Linked DNA regions of Homo sapiens: regions 1, 2 and 4 are each linked to region 3. The links are contacts of gene promoters, found by promoter capture Hi-C in blood cells and fetal thymus (Javierre and others, 2016). All regions are on one chromosome and are shown on one strand. The core of a region is centred on a gene start or on the middle of the fragment in contact, and the rest is flanking DNA. Distances in the headings are between cores, read along the strand shown. Region 1 overlaps RABEP1 (rabaptin, RAB GTPase binding effector protein 1). Region 2 overlaps RABEP1 (rabaptin, RAB GTPase binding effector protein 1). Region 3 holds the start of USP6 (ubiquitin specific peptidase 6). Region 4 overlaps RABEP1 (rabaptin, RAB GTPase binding effector protein 1).

What was found. The method cuts DNA at HindIII sites, captures the fragments that hold promoters and counts their contacts. A CHiCAGO score of 5 or more calls a contact.
Region 1: a contact is called between a fragment that was not itself captured here and the fragment with the promoter of USP6 in region 3, in 2 of 17 cell types (naive B cells and total B cells). The highest score is 5.4, in naive B cells.
Region 2: a fragment that was not itself captured here is called in contact with the fragment with the promoter of USP6 in region 3 in 2 of 17 cell types (total B cells and naive B cells); the score reaches 7.7 in total B cells.
Region 4: a fragment that was not itself captured here is called in contact with the fragment with the promoter of USP6 in region 3 in 2 of 17 cell types (naive B cells and total B cells); the score reaches 6.8 in naive B cells.

The regions. Positions count from the first base shown.
Region 1 is chr17:5,353,616-5,356,498 of GRCh38, forward strand. It overlaps RABEP1 (rabaptin, RAB GTPase binding effector protein 1), which reads left to right. Exons shown (of 18, transcript NM_004703.6): 8 at 744-875. Among named protein-coding and RNA genes, the nearest start is that of NUP88, 65 kb to the right of the region's middle. The HindIII fragment of the contact is 8,608 bases long and covers 1-2,883 here.
Region 2 is chr17:5,307,898-5,311,037 of GRCh38, forward strand. RABEP1 (rabaptin, RAB GTPase binding effector protein 1) reads left to right here. Exons shown (of 18, transcript NM_004703.6): 2 at 797-925. Among named protein-coding and RNA genes, the nearest start is that of RABEP1, 27 kb to the left of the region's middle. The HindIII fragment of the contact is 1,710 bases long and covers 685-2,394 here.
Region 3 is chr17:5,114,606-5,117,665 of GRCh38, forward strand. USP6 (ubiquitin specific peptidase 6) reads left to right here and starts at 1,427. Exons shown (of 38, transcript NM_001304284.2): 1 at 1,427-2,135. It also overlaps a transcript of ZNF232 not described here. The HindIII fragment of the contact is 5,308 bases long and covers 1-3,060 here.
Region 4 is chr17:5,329,380-5,332,282 of GRCh38, forward strand. RABEP1 (rabaptin, RAB GTPase binding effector protein 1) reads left to right here. Exons shown (of 18, transcript NM_004703.6): 3 at 2,570-2,773. Among named protein-coding and RNA genes, the nearest start is that of RABEP1, 49 kb to the left of the region's middle. The HindIII fragment of the contact is 8,927 bases long and covers 1-2,903 here.

The sequences.
Region 1 (2,883 bases), core at 383-2,882, 240 kb after region 3:
GGTGGGAGGATCGCTTGAGCCTGGGAGTTTGAGACCAGCCAGGACAACAGCGTGAGACCCCATCTATGCAAAAAAACCAAAAAATTAGCCAGGCATGGTGGTGCATGCCTGTGATCCCGGCTACACGAGAGGATGAGGCAGGAGGATTGCTTGAGCCCAGGAGTTCAAGACCAGCCTGGGCAACAATGTGAAACCCCGTCTCTACAAAAAATAAAAAAATTAGGCGGGCGTGGTGGCACATGCCTATGATTCCAGCTATGTGGAGAGGATGAGGTGGGAGAATTGCTTGAACCCAGGAGGTTGAGGCTGCAGTGAACCATATTTGCACCACTGCATTCCAGCCTGAGTGTCAGAGCAAGACCTTGTCTCAAAAACAAACTTTTTCATATTTATTTTCTACAGTAATCACAAGGAATGTTCTGTGTAAATTTTTTTTTTCAAGGATCATTTGAAGAGGCGGTTTTGCTTTCTTTTATTTTGCCTTACTTTATACAGTATACTTTTCTTGGAAGCTGCTTCCTGATTTCTTCTTTATACCAGTGTTCTTAGTTTGTGCTTATAATATTAAAATATTTTGTAATGGCCAGAGGCCCTTAGATGGGATTACAAAACAAAGAAGCGTAAGTATCCAGTTTTCTCTTATCATAACGCTCTGTTCTTTATTTGTTTTGAATGGTTAAAGAACTGTGTCACTTATTAAGTAGGTTACTTGGGTCATATATATGTTTTTTTCTTCCTTTTAGGAGGATGATGAACAACAAAGACTCAATAAGAGAAAGGATCACAAAAAAGCAGATGTTGAGGAAGAAATAAAAATACCAGTAGTGTGTGCTTTAACTCAAGAAGAATCTTCAGCCCAGTTATCAAATGAAGAGGTATAGTGAGTCTATAATTAAAGTCATTAAATACACAATGTCAACAATTTTAGCTTACTCATACATCAGTTAATTACATTGTTCATATGAGAAGTGAGAAGTGCATAGCTACGAGGTGAAAGTTAGATAAAAATGACAGTATTTTCAGTTGTTTTTATGGCATTATAGGTAGCACTATTTGAAACATGTTGCAGCTTCATTCGCTGTCTGAAATAGATGTTCTTTTTTCCAGTATTTCCAAAATTTAATACATTAGAATAAACCTTTAAATAATGTCTGCAAAATCTTTTTTGATGTGAATAGTACATGTTGCTAATACTTGTCTTTTTTGTTTAAAAAGAGATTATCTAAAGCGCTGAAATGCTTAACTCCCTGTAGCATATATGAGAGTATTAACCAGTATTAGGTTTTCATCCCTGACGGCCATGGGTGAGGTTTGGCAGATAACACCACAGGGTAAAATGTTTCAGGTACTAGGAATGGGTAGAGTAGAGAGACCTGGAAGTGTTAGGTGTTCTGTGGCCTTGTCACCTCTCACCTACAGTGTGGCAAGGGCCTCCTCATTGGGTTTCCTGCCTCAACCTGTCCCATTCCACTGCGTCCTCAGCATTACTGTCAAATTCATTTTCTTAAGTGCAGCTGCAGTCAGGCCACTCCCCTACTCAAAAACTACCATTGACTCCCATTACCTATATAATTAAGCACACATTCCTCACTCTGACAATTAAGGCCCTTCATCATCTGGATTACATTTTAGCCATGTTGGTCATCATCTTGGGCTGTATTCCCACTTGGTCTGTTGGTTCCTTCATTTGGAGTACTTTCCTCCCATTGCCTTTCTGAGTATTGAAATCCTTCTACTCATCTTTCAAAGCTCATCTTGTTATCAGTGAAGGAACTGCTTCTCTTATTGCCTTTAGAATAAAAACTAAGATCCCCCAAGATCCCTAGCATGGCATACAAGGGCATTCACAGTTGAATGGCCCTTCCAGCCTCACTTACTGCTCTCCACCTCTCTGTAGCCAGACCTGTGCACTTACTGTTCATGCTCATGTGGCCTGTCCCTGCGGCTTAGAATCACACTCACTTCCCTGCGGCACCTCCTTTCCTGGCCTGGTGAATGAATTGCACTTAAATTGGATACAGGTCTTGTCTTTACTTTCAGGGGTATCATGTTTCTATTTACTTTGCAGATTTACTTTGAGCCATACATAATCTACATCCTGGTGGTTATATATATGCCCATGCTTACAGATTGTTTGATGTTTAAGAAAAACTTAAAAAAAATTTTAGTAGACACTAAAAAGTGCTGTATATTGAAGTTGTTTTGTTCATTCTTTGTTCTGGGACATAGACTGGGAACCACTTGGTCTAATTCTGCTGTGCATTTTAAAAATATTTAGACTCCCAAGAGAATGTCTCAAGTTTTGGGTACAGCCAATGATTACATAGTGTTTTCATCATGCAGTAATCTATCCAGGAATGTTTGAAAAGTGGGAAAACAGGAAAGGGACATTTGTTGTGATTTACAGAGAAGTATTTTTATTTTTGATTCTCTCTTAACAGATCCGTAGACTTTCAGAGCTGGTGTTTTGCAGTTTGAATGTTGAATATAATTGTTTTGTATTGAGAATAATGACACAACTCTTGGTTTAGAGTTAATCTGAAGCCTAGCTAACATGGTGTGAAACCCTATCTCTACTAAAAATACACAAATTAGCTGGGCGAGGTGGTGGATCCCTGTAATCCCAGCTACTCAGGTGACTGAGGCATGAGAATTGTTTGAACCCGGGAGGTGGAGGTTGCAATGAGCTGAGATTTTGCTACTGCACTCCAGCCTGGATGACAGTGAGATCCTGTCTCACACACACAAAAGTTAATCTGAGATGCTTTGGAGAGTTGGATTTATGGCTAAAGATATTTGAAATTTGTAGACCTCACATTTTCTTTAACCTGATGCTTATAATATGCTTTTCTCTCTACAAAATGTTCATTATGGAAAATTTGG
Region 2 (3,140 bases), core at 290-2,789, 190 kb after region 3:
TCTCAGTATAATGGTAATGGATCATTTTGAAGTTGGAAGAATAGTTCAGTCTGGTATGGCTACACTAGTTAGGGAACCTATTAGATTTTGCTTGTGACACTTGAGAGAAATGGGAAATAGCAAGATTGGCAGTAGGTTCATTTGTGGGATAAGTAGTTCAAATAATCCAATATTTAACAGTTCTAAAATTAAATTGCTATTCAGTTGCACAAAGGCACTTTAGAAGCTCTTTTTTTTGTGGGGAAGTTGGCCTTATGTGATTCTCTGTATATTTGTGGTTTCACTTTACATGACTCATTTACAGTTGTGTATTAAGTCTAATACAAGGATCTTTTTTTTTTTTTTTGAGACAGAGTCTCACTCTGTCACCCAGGCTAGAGTGCAGTGGTGCGATCTCGGCCCACTGCAACCTCCGCCTCCCGGGTTCAAGCGATTCTCCTGCCTCAGCCTCCTGAGTAGCTGGGATTACAGGCACCTGCCACTACACCTGGCTAATTTTTGTATTTTTAATAGAGATGGGATTTCTCCATGTCGGCCAGGCTGGTCTCGAACTCCTGACCTCGGGTGATCCGCCCGCCTCGGCCTCCCAAAGTGCTGGGATTACAGGCGTGAGCCACCATGCCTGGTCTGTCTTACTTTTTTTAAACATTAGAATATCCTAGCATATGGTGGATTTTTGGAAGAAGCTTGACTACTTGTTTCACGTATAGCAATGTACAGCTAGAATACTAATTTACTGTTTTATAAATTTATGAATAAAAGTTATTACTTGTTAACTAGTGTTTTTTTCCCCCAGTTTCTCTTCAGCAACGGGTAGCAGAATTGGAAAAAATTAATGCAGAATTTTTACGTGCACAACAGCAGCTTGAACAAGAATTTAATCAAAAGAGAGCAAAATTTAAGGAGTTATATTTGGCTAAAGAGGGTAAGTTCATAAGTCTCGCACCAACTTCAATGCGAAAACTGCCTTAAAGTGTTGAGTTTCTTGGTAGTAGTGTTAATTTTATCATTGAATAAACCTTGATTTTATTTGTACTTGCATAATAAAAGAATACTGTTTAAAGGCTAGGTTAAGAATGGGATTGAAAAACAAGTTGAAAAATGCCTTCTTCAGATTTTGCCTTGTTTTTTGATCTTACTGTTCATATTTAGGTTGCATAGCCTTGAGATAAGAGAATGTTATTGCTCTTAACATTTGGGATACAGTTGTGGGCAAACTAGGATTGTTGGCATTCTAATAACAGCTTTAGCTATGTTATCTTTAATTCCATGAAACATCAGTTTTACCCAACAAATATTCAGTTATTTATCAATAAATATTTATTTAATATCTACTATGAGGCAGACATTATACTTGTGTTGGGTATACAGAAAGAGGAAAATTCATGTGGTTCTTTAACTTGGTTGAACTCAATGAGCAAAACAGATGTTAAGTAATTGTGTGATGAGTCGTTAAAACAGGAAATTGCAGGCTGGGCGCGGTGGCTCACACCTGTAATCCCAGCACTTTGGGAGGCCAACGGGCGGGGGCGGATCACCTGAGGTCGGGAGTTCAAGTCCAGCCTGGCCAACATGGAGAAACCCTGTCTGTACTAAAAATACAAAATTAGCTGGGCATGGTGGCGCATGCCTGTAATCCCAGCTGCTCGGGAGGCTGAGGCAGAAGAATTGCTTGAACCCAGGAGGCAGACGTTGAGGTGAGCTGAGATTGCGCCATTGCACTCCAGCGTGGGCGACAAGAGTGAAACTCCCATCTCAAAAAAAAAAAAAAAAGAAAAAGAAACTGTATAAGGAAAATACATGAGAGAACATGTTGGGGGACCTGATTTGAAGGATCAGGGAAGGGGCTTACCTTCTGAGTATCGACCTAGAATAATGTGAATGTAGTTTCCACAGCTCTCTAGACCAGTGATTCTCAAAGTGTGATTGTGGAACAGCATCATTATCGTCATCATCACCTGGGAAAGTTGTTAGAAATGCAAATGTTTGGGTCCCACCCAGATTTACTGAGTTAGAAACTGTGGGATTTGGGTCCAGCTGCACACTAAATTTTGAAAACTGCTCTAGTCTATAATAGAATAGTGGCTCTCAAATTCAAATGTGGATAAAAATCACCTGGAGAGCTTGTTAAACCACAGTATGTTTGGGTGGAGCCCAGAAATTTGCATTTCTAATAAGCTCATAGATGATTCCAGTTACTGCTAGTTCAAGTACTACAGTTTGAAAAATCCTGTTCTGGACTAGTGATCATGCACCTTTTTTAACTTATGAACTCTGTAAAATATATACTTACATACAACCTTCATACATGTTAAAGTTGATGTTTAAAATTTTTTGCTTGAAAAGATGTGAAGGATAAAATTTTATATTGTTGATATTTACAATTTAAATGAAAGCTTCGTCCTTTTTTTTTTTTTTTTTTGAGATGGGAGTCTCCCCCGACATCTTCCCCTGTCACGCAGGCTGGAGTTCAGTGGCACTATCTCAGCTCACTACAACCTCCGCCTCCCATATTCAAGTGATTCTCCTGCCCTGCCCCAGCCTCCCGAGTAGCTGGGATTACAGGTGTGTGCCACCATGCCCGGCTAATTTTTGTATTTTTAGTAGAGACGGGGTTTCACCATGTTGGTCAGGCTGGTCTCAAACTCCTGACCTTGTGATCCGCCCGCTTCGGCCTCCCAAAGTGCTGGGTGAGCCACCACGCCTGGCCAACTTCCTGCTTTTAAACATATCCAGTGGAATGAAAATATCAGTGATTTATCCATTGTTATCTGTTTAACAAACACATGAATAGCTTTATAGCCGAAATTTTACAGTGGTTTTCCTCCTTGCGTTGGGTTTTCTTCTTTACATCTCCTTTAGAATTTTTTTCTTAAAAATGGTTTTGAAACTTGAGTGTGCATTTGTTTCATTCATTTTTTTTTTTTTTTGAGACCGAGTCTCGCTGTGTTGTCCAGGCTGAAGTGCAGTGGTGTGATCTTGGCTCACTGCAACCTCCGCCTCCTGGGTTCAAGCGACTCTTGTGCCTTAGCCTCCCTAGTAGCTGGGGCTACAGGTGTGTGCCACCACGCCCTGCTAATTTTTGTATTTCTAGTAGAGACGGGGTCTCACCATGTTGGCCAGGCTGGTCTCGAACTCCT
Region 3 (3,060 bases), core at 177-2,676:
GATCAGCTGGGCTCAGGAGTTCGAGACCAGCCTGGCCAGCATGGTGAAAGCCCCTCTCTACTAAAAATACAAAAATTAGCCGGGTGTGGTGGTGGGTGCCTGTAATCCCAGCTAATTGGGAGGCTGGGGCTGGAGAATTACTTGAACCTGGGAGGTGGAGGTTGCAGTGAGCCGAGATCGGGCCACTGCACTCCAGCCTGGCAGCAGTGTGAGACTCCGTCCCAAAAAATAACAAACAAACAAAAAAGACACCAGAGGGCTTTGGGTCCCTCTCTCTCTGCCATGTGAGGACCCTGTGAGAAGGCAGCCAGGGAGCTCTCACCAGAACCTGACCATGTTGGGCCCTGGTCACAGCCTTGCAGCCTCCAAAACTGAGAAAATAAATTTCTGTTGTCTGGCATCCAGTCTATGGTATTTTGTTACGGCAGCCCGAGCTAAGACAGAGGAAAACTGGGGGCTGATGTGACGGCGGGGACTTTAGGTAGAAGGACCCCACGTCAAAAGTCAAAGCTAAAAATTCTGGAACGAGCCAGGAAGGCATCAGGACGTCTCATTTTATTTGCTAGAGGCATCTTTTGGGGGGTGGGGCGGTGGGTGGGTGGAAGGAGATGTGGCCAGTGAGCCTCTGACTTTTAATTGAGTTATTTCGAAACAAGGAACAGAGGGCCGGATGTGGTGGGTCGTGCCTGTAATTCCAGCACTTTGCGAGGCCGAGGCCAGTGGATCACCTGAGGTCAGGAGTTCAAGACCAGCCTGGCCAACATGGTGAAACCCTCTCTCTACTAAAAATACAAAATTAGCCTGGCGTGGTGGGGGGCGCCTGTAATCCCAGCTACTCGGGAGGCTGAGGCGGGACAACAGCTTTAACCCGGGAGGCGGAGGTTACAGTGAGCCGAGATGGCGCCACTGCACTCCGGCTTGGGCAACAGAGCAAGACTCCGTCTCCAAAAACACACACACACACACACACAAAACCCAAAACGGAACAGAGGCAGTTCTGTATTCCAGAGGGATTGATTTGTGATGCCTGCTCAAAACTCAAGAAGCCACCACCCTGATACTCATCAAACCCCGGAGAAATTTCGTTTTTAGAGTGTCAGAAGGCCCCATGAATAACCTTCCAGTCACTGAGGGAGGTCCCTACTCAGCACGCCCCGGTCTCCTTCACTCTCCTGCACTCGTGCCTCACAGATGGCCTCATGCGCGGACTGGCGGTCCAGCCTCCCGGGGACACAGCCCGGGCGCACCCCGCGCCGCCTTTGGCCACTGAGGCGGTCCTCGAGGCGCCGGGCTAGGGAAAGCCTCCCCGGCCGTCAAGGCTGGGATAGCGCCGGGGGATCGGGGCGGGGTGCGTGCGCCGAAAGGGCCTCAAAGCTGTAGGGCTGGACGGCACAAAGGGGCGCAAGGCACGGAGGCCAGGCAGAGGGGACAGCTAGCGGCGCGGCGGGACGGGCGGGCCCCGACGCCCAGCTCCAAATGCGTGGCCGCTGTGGGAGCTCGTCTCCAGGCGCCCATCAGTCTTCCCCTCACTCGACGCTACCTTGGCGGCCGCGCCCATGCTGTCCCCGCTCCAACTAGCAGTCAGGAGGGGCCGCGGGCAGCGCTCGAGACGCTCATTGAGAGGACTTCCCGCCTGCGGGCTCTCTGCTCGACGCCACTCCCGGCCCCGCTCCGGGCGGCCCCCCTCACCACTCCCGGCCCCGCTCCCGGCGGCCCGCCTCACCACTCCCGGCTTCCCGGGGCTTAGGCCCGCACCATCGAGTCGAACCGAGTCCTCATGTTTTCCTAGACAAGCCGCTGGGGGAGAGGGGAAACACTTCTGGCCCATGTGAGCCGCCGTCTCGTGTGGTGTCTGAGGGGCGTCTACCTGGAGTCACTGAGCCGACGAAAGGGAAAAGGCCAGTGCCTGTCCGGGAAGAGCTCAGCCTAGTGGGGCGGGCGACAAGTTACAGTTGCTGCCTTACGATGGCCGTGGCCCGTGGAGGCACTAGACCCTCACCAGGGGTCTGTCAGGAAAGGCGGGCAGATACGTGAGGCCTGAACAGGAAGGAACTGGGAGACCCAAGACTGTACCGCCAAGACCGCTTTCGAGTCGGGCCGACCGGAATTTGAATTCGTTTCTTCACTTACTAGTTGTGAGTCTTTGGGCAAATTTGCCTTTCTAGAGCGTAGTTTCTTATGTATAAAACAGGGTTAACAGTTGCACTCACTGAGGTAAATACAAGAGAAAATTGATGGTAAGTGCTTATCACGGTACCCAACACATAGCAAGTACTGAAAAGTGATGGAGCTAGGTACGGAGGGAGCAATCTTCACAGAGGGAACAGCTCGTGGAAAGGCCACAGGGCAAGAGGGCGGTGCCTACATTCTTGGGGAACTGCAGAGAGTTCATGGGTAAATAATAGGAAGGAAAGGTAAGTACTTTGCAGAAAGCCTTCCCCAGCTAGGTGAGACTCCCCACTGTAGTATCATATGCCTCTCCTTTTTGGCACTTATGGTTGCAACTTTATTAATGATTCTAATTAGTTTCTCTTCTACAATTATAAGTTCCATCAGGCCAGAGACTTGTCCATTTATGCTCACCCTGCTTTGTAGCACCCGCTGCTTAACACATATTAAAAGCTCGATAAGCCTGGGCGAGGGGGCTCAAGCCTCTAATCCCAGCACTTTGGGAGGCCGAGGCGGGTGGATCATGAGGTCAGGAGTTTGAGACCAGCCTGACCAACATGGTGAAACCCCCTCTCTACAAAAAATACAAAAATTAGCCGGGTGTGGAGGCACACACCTGTAATCCCAGCTACTCAGGAGGCTGAGGCAGGAGAATCACTTGAACCCGGGAGGCAAAGGTTGCAGTGAGCTGAGATTGCACCACTGCACTCCAGCCTGGGCGACAGAGCGAGACTCCGTCTCAAAAAAAAAAAAAAAAAGCTCAATAAATATTTACAGCACAAGTGAATAAATGGGGTCGCATCAGAATATATATGTCACAATAAGGACTTTGGACTTCAGGCTGAAGTTAGTGGGAAATCACTGTGGAAATTTAGAGAGGGGGATGGCACT
Region 4 (2,903 bases), core at 1-2,500, 210 kb after region 3:
AATTAGCTGGGCGTGGTGGCACGCGCCTGTAATCCCAGCTACTTGGGAGGCTGAAGCAGGACAATCTGTTGAACCCGGGAGGCAGAGGTTGCAGTGAGCCAAGATCGTGCCACTGCACTCTAGCCTGGGCAACAAGAGCGAGACTCCGTCTCAAAAAAATAAATAAGCATGGCAAATCTTAATACCTTTTGAGTCTTGGTGAAAGCTATATGAAGGATTGTTGTAGTATACCCTCAACTTTTGAATATGTTTGAAAATCTTAATAATTACATATACAGCAGTAAAAGCAATAAACGAATGTTAGAACTCCTACTGTTGGCAAACATAATGTTTGAAATGCTTTACTACAAAAAATTAAGATTTTCTAACTTTATTTTAAATTTCTGTCTCCTGTTTTTTTGTATTTATATATATAAATATAACATTCATATATATGTTCATATATATATATATATATATATATATAACTAAAGTTACTGTTGACCAAGTCTTCCTCCAGGCTCTCTATTTCACTTTTAAGTGCCAAAAATGGATATTTAGGCTTGGTATTTGTTTACAGTTTTTCTGTTCATAATGACAACATGGTAGTGAATAGCTCTGGGTAATCTCCAGCAAATCAAAAGTACCAGAGGTAATTAGCATGAGGACCTGTTAAGTGTATAAACTTGAGCCTTGATAAAATTGTAGTACCCAAAAATGAATAAAGTATCCCAGAAATAATGCTTTTTCTTTTTTCACATTTTATGAAACAGTTTAACACTCAGAATACAGAGTTGACACACATAAACTTTTCCTTTGTGGTTTCACGTGTTTACATCTTTCTGGGTCTGTCTATTTGCATGCCTACCACAACTTCCCAGGTGTCTGTCTTTAAGGGACTTCACACAATTACTTTTTTAATTAATGTTCTTAAAACTGTCTTTGGCTAGAGATTCAAAATATTTTAAGAGTGATGGAAACTGATGTTGAGAGAGTAAAGATTTCAAAACAACTTAGCATGACTAGGTGTTTCCCTCTGTGACTTTGACTACCAAATCATTAACTCCTGTGATAACAATGAACATTTCACAACGTTTAAAAGTTCTCTTATTTTACTATTGGATTTTTATAAGTAGTTAGAAATTTATGCAAGAAAGTATTGCCACTGTCTTCATGAGGAAACTGAGGCTTGAGAATCTTGTGATTTCCTTAAAGTCATACAGCTGGTTAGCGGTAGAATTAGACCTTAAATCAGTTTATTTTCATGGTCAGTTTGGCTCAGTTATTGTGCTTTGGAGAGGAAATTGATACTTTTACAAAGATGAAGAATTTTTTTTTTCATAAATACCTTACAACTTTAGATGCTAAAAGGCGTAAGTTAAGGCCGGGCGCGGTGGCTCACACCTGTAATCCCAACGCTTTGGGAGGCTGAGGCGGGAGGATCATTTCAGCCCAGGAGGCCAAGACCAGCCTGGGCAGCGTAGTGAAACTTTGTCTCTACAAGAAATTTCAAAAATTAGCCGGGCGTGATGGTGCATGCCTGCAGTCCTAGCTACTCAGGAGGCTGAGGTGGGGGGATCGCTTGAGCCCAGGAATTTGAGGTTATAGTGGTCTATGTTTGCGTCACTGCACTCCAGCCTGTGCGACAATTGAGACCCTATCTCTTAACTTTTTTTTTTTTTTTTTTTTTTTTTTTTAAAGAAACACAGCGGCTGACTGGGAAAAGTTTTGTAAGAGAAGACAGACTTAATATCCAGAATATATAAAATGCTCTTACAGATCAGAAGGAAAATCATTCATTAGAAGCAAATGTAAAGAATGTCACCAAAGAGGAAATGAGTCACTAGTACATATATGAGAAGATGCTCAAACTCCTTATTAACAGGGAAAATGTAGATTAAAGTGACCATTTGCTACCCATGATATTTACAAGAATTTTTAAAAGATGGAAAATAGTGACTGTTGTTAAGGGTATGGGAAAACAATCACACATCCCTGTATACTGTTGATAAGTTCATCTTTTTTTTGAAGTTAGTTTGGCCAAACATATGTTCTGCCTGGGCTTAAACCATGTAGTAGGCACATTACATCAACTTAGTATTTAAAAGATGGTAAGAGGGAGCCGAGAAATTAATGCTAACTTTAAAGAACATACGTCTAGTCACTGCCATGTGCTCTGGCTTTCTTTTCTCTTTTATTAAACATTTTTTGAATGTTTGTGGAAGGTAATGTACTAATTAGCGTTTCCAATAAATTATCATTACAACAACCTTGTGAGGTGGCTGTTTTTAACTTCCATTTTGCAGATGTGGAAACTTAGGCCAGAGAGATTAAATAACATGACCAAGTTCATTTAGTCAGCAGACGGGAATGCGTAAATTGAGCTCTAAAACCATGACTGTAACTACTGGATCATTAGATAGATAGTAACAATTGATTTGTGATACCCAGCTTACCTTAAATCTCACCTCTATTAAAAGGGTGTCATTTTGTATGTTTATATTTTAAAATTTAATACCTTATTTCTTTATTGGAATGCCAGTCTGATCAAAGTGAACATTAATGGACTATCTTTTACTTTTCTCTCCAGAGGATCTGAAGAGGCAAAATGCAGTATTACAAGCTGCACAAGATGATTTGGGACACCTTCGAACCCAGCTGTGGGAAGCTCAAGCAGAGATGGAGAATATTAAGGCGATTGCCACAGTCTCTGAGAACACCAAGCAAGAAGCTATAGATGAAGTGAAAAGACAGTGGAGAGAAGAAGTTGCTTCACTTCAGGCTGTTATGAAAGGTAAAGACAGAGAAAGATCAATTTTGTGATTTTCTAAGATATCCGATTCTGATGATTGAGAATATTTTCAGAGAATCTTAAAATATATACAGAGTTTCATTTGTGGTTTTATGTACTGTCATCATCAAGA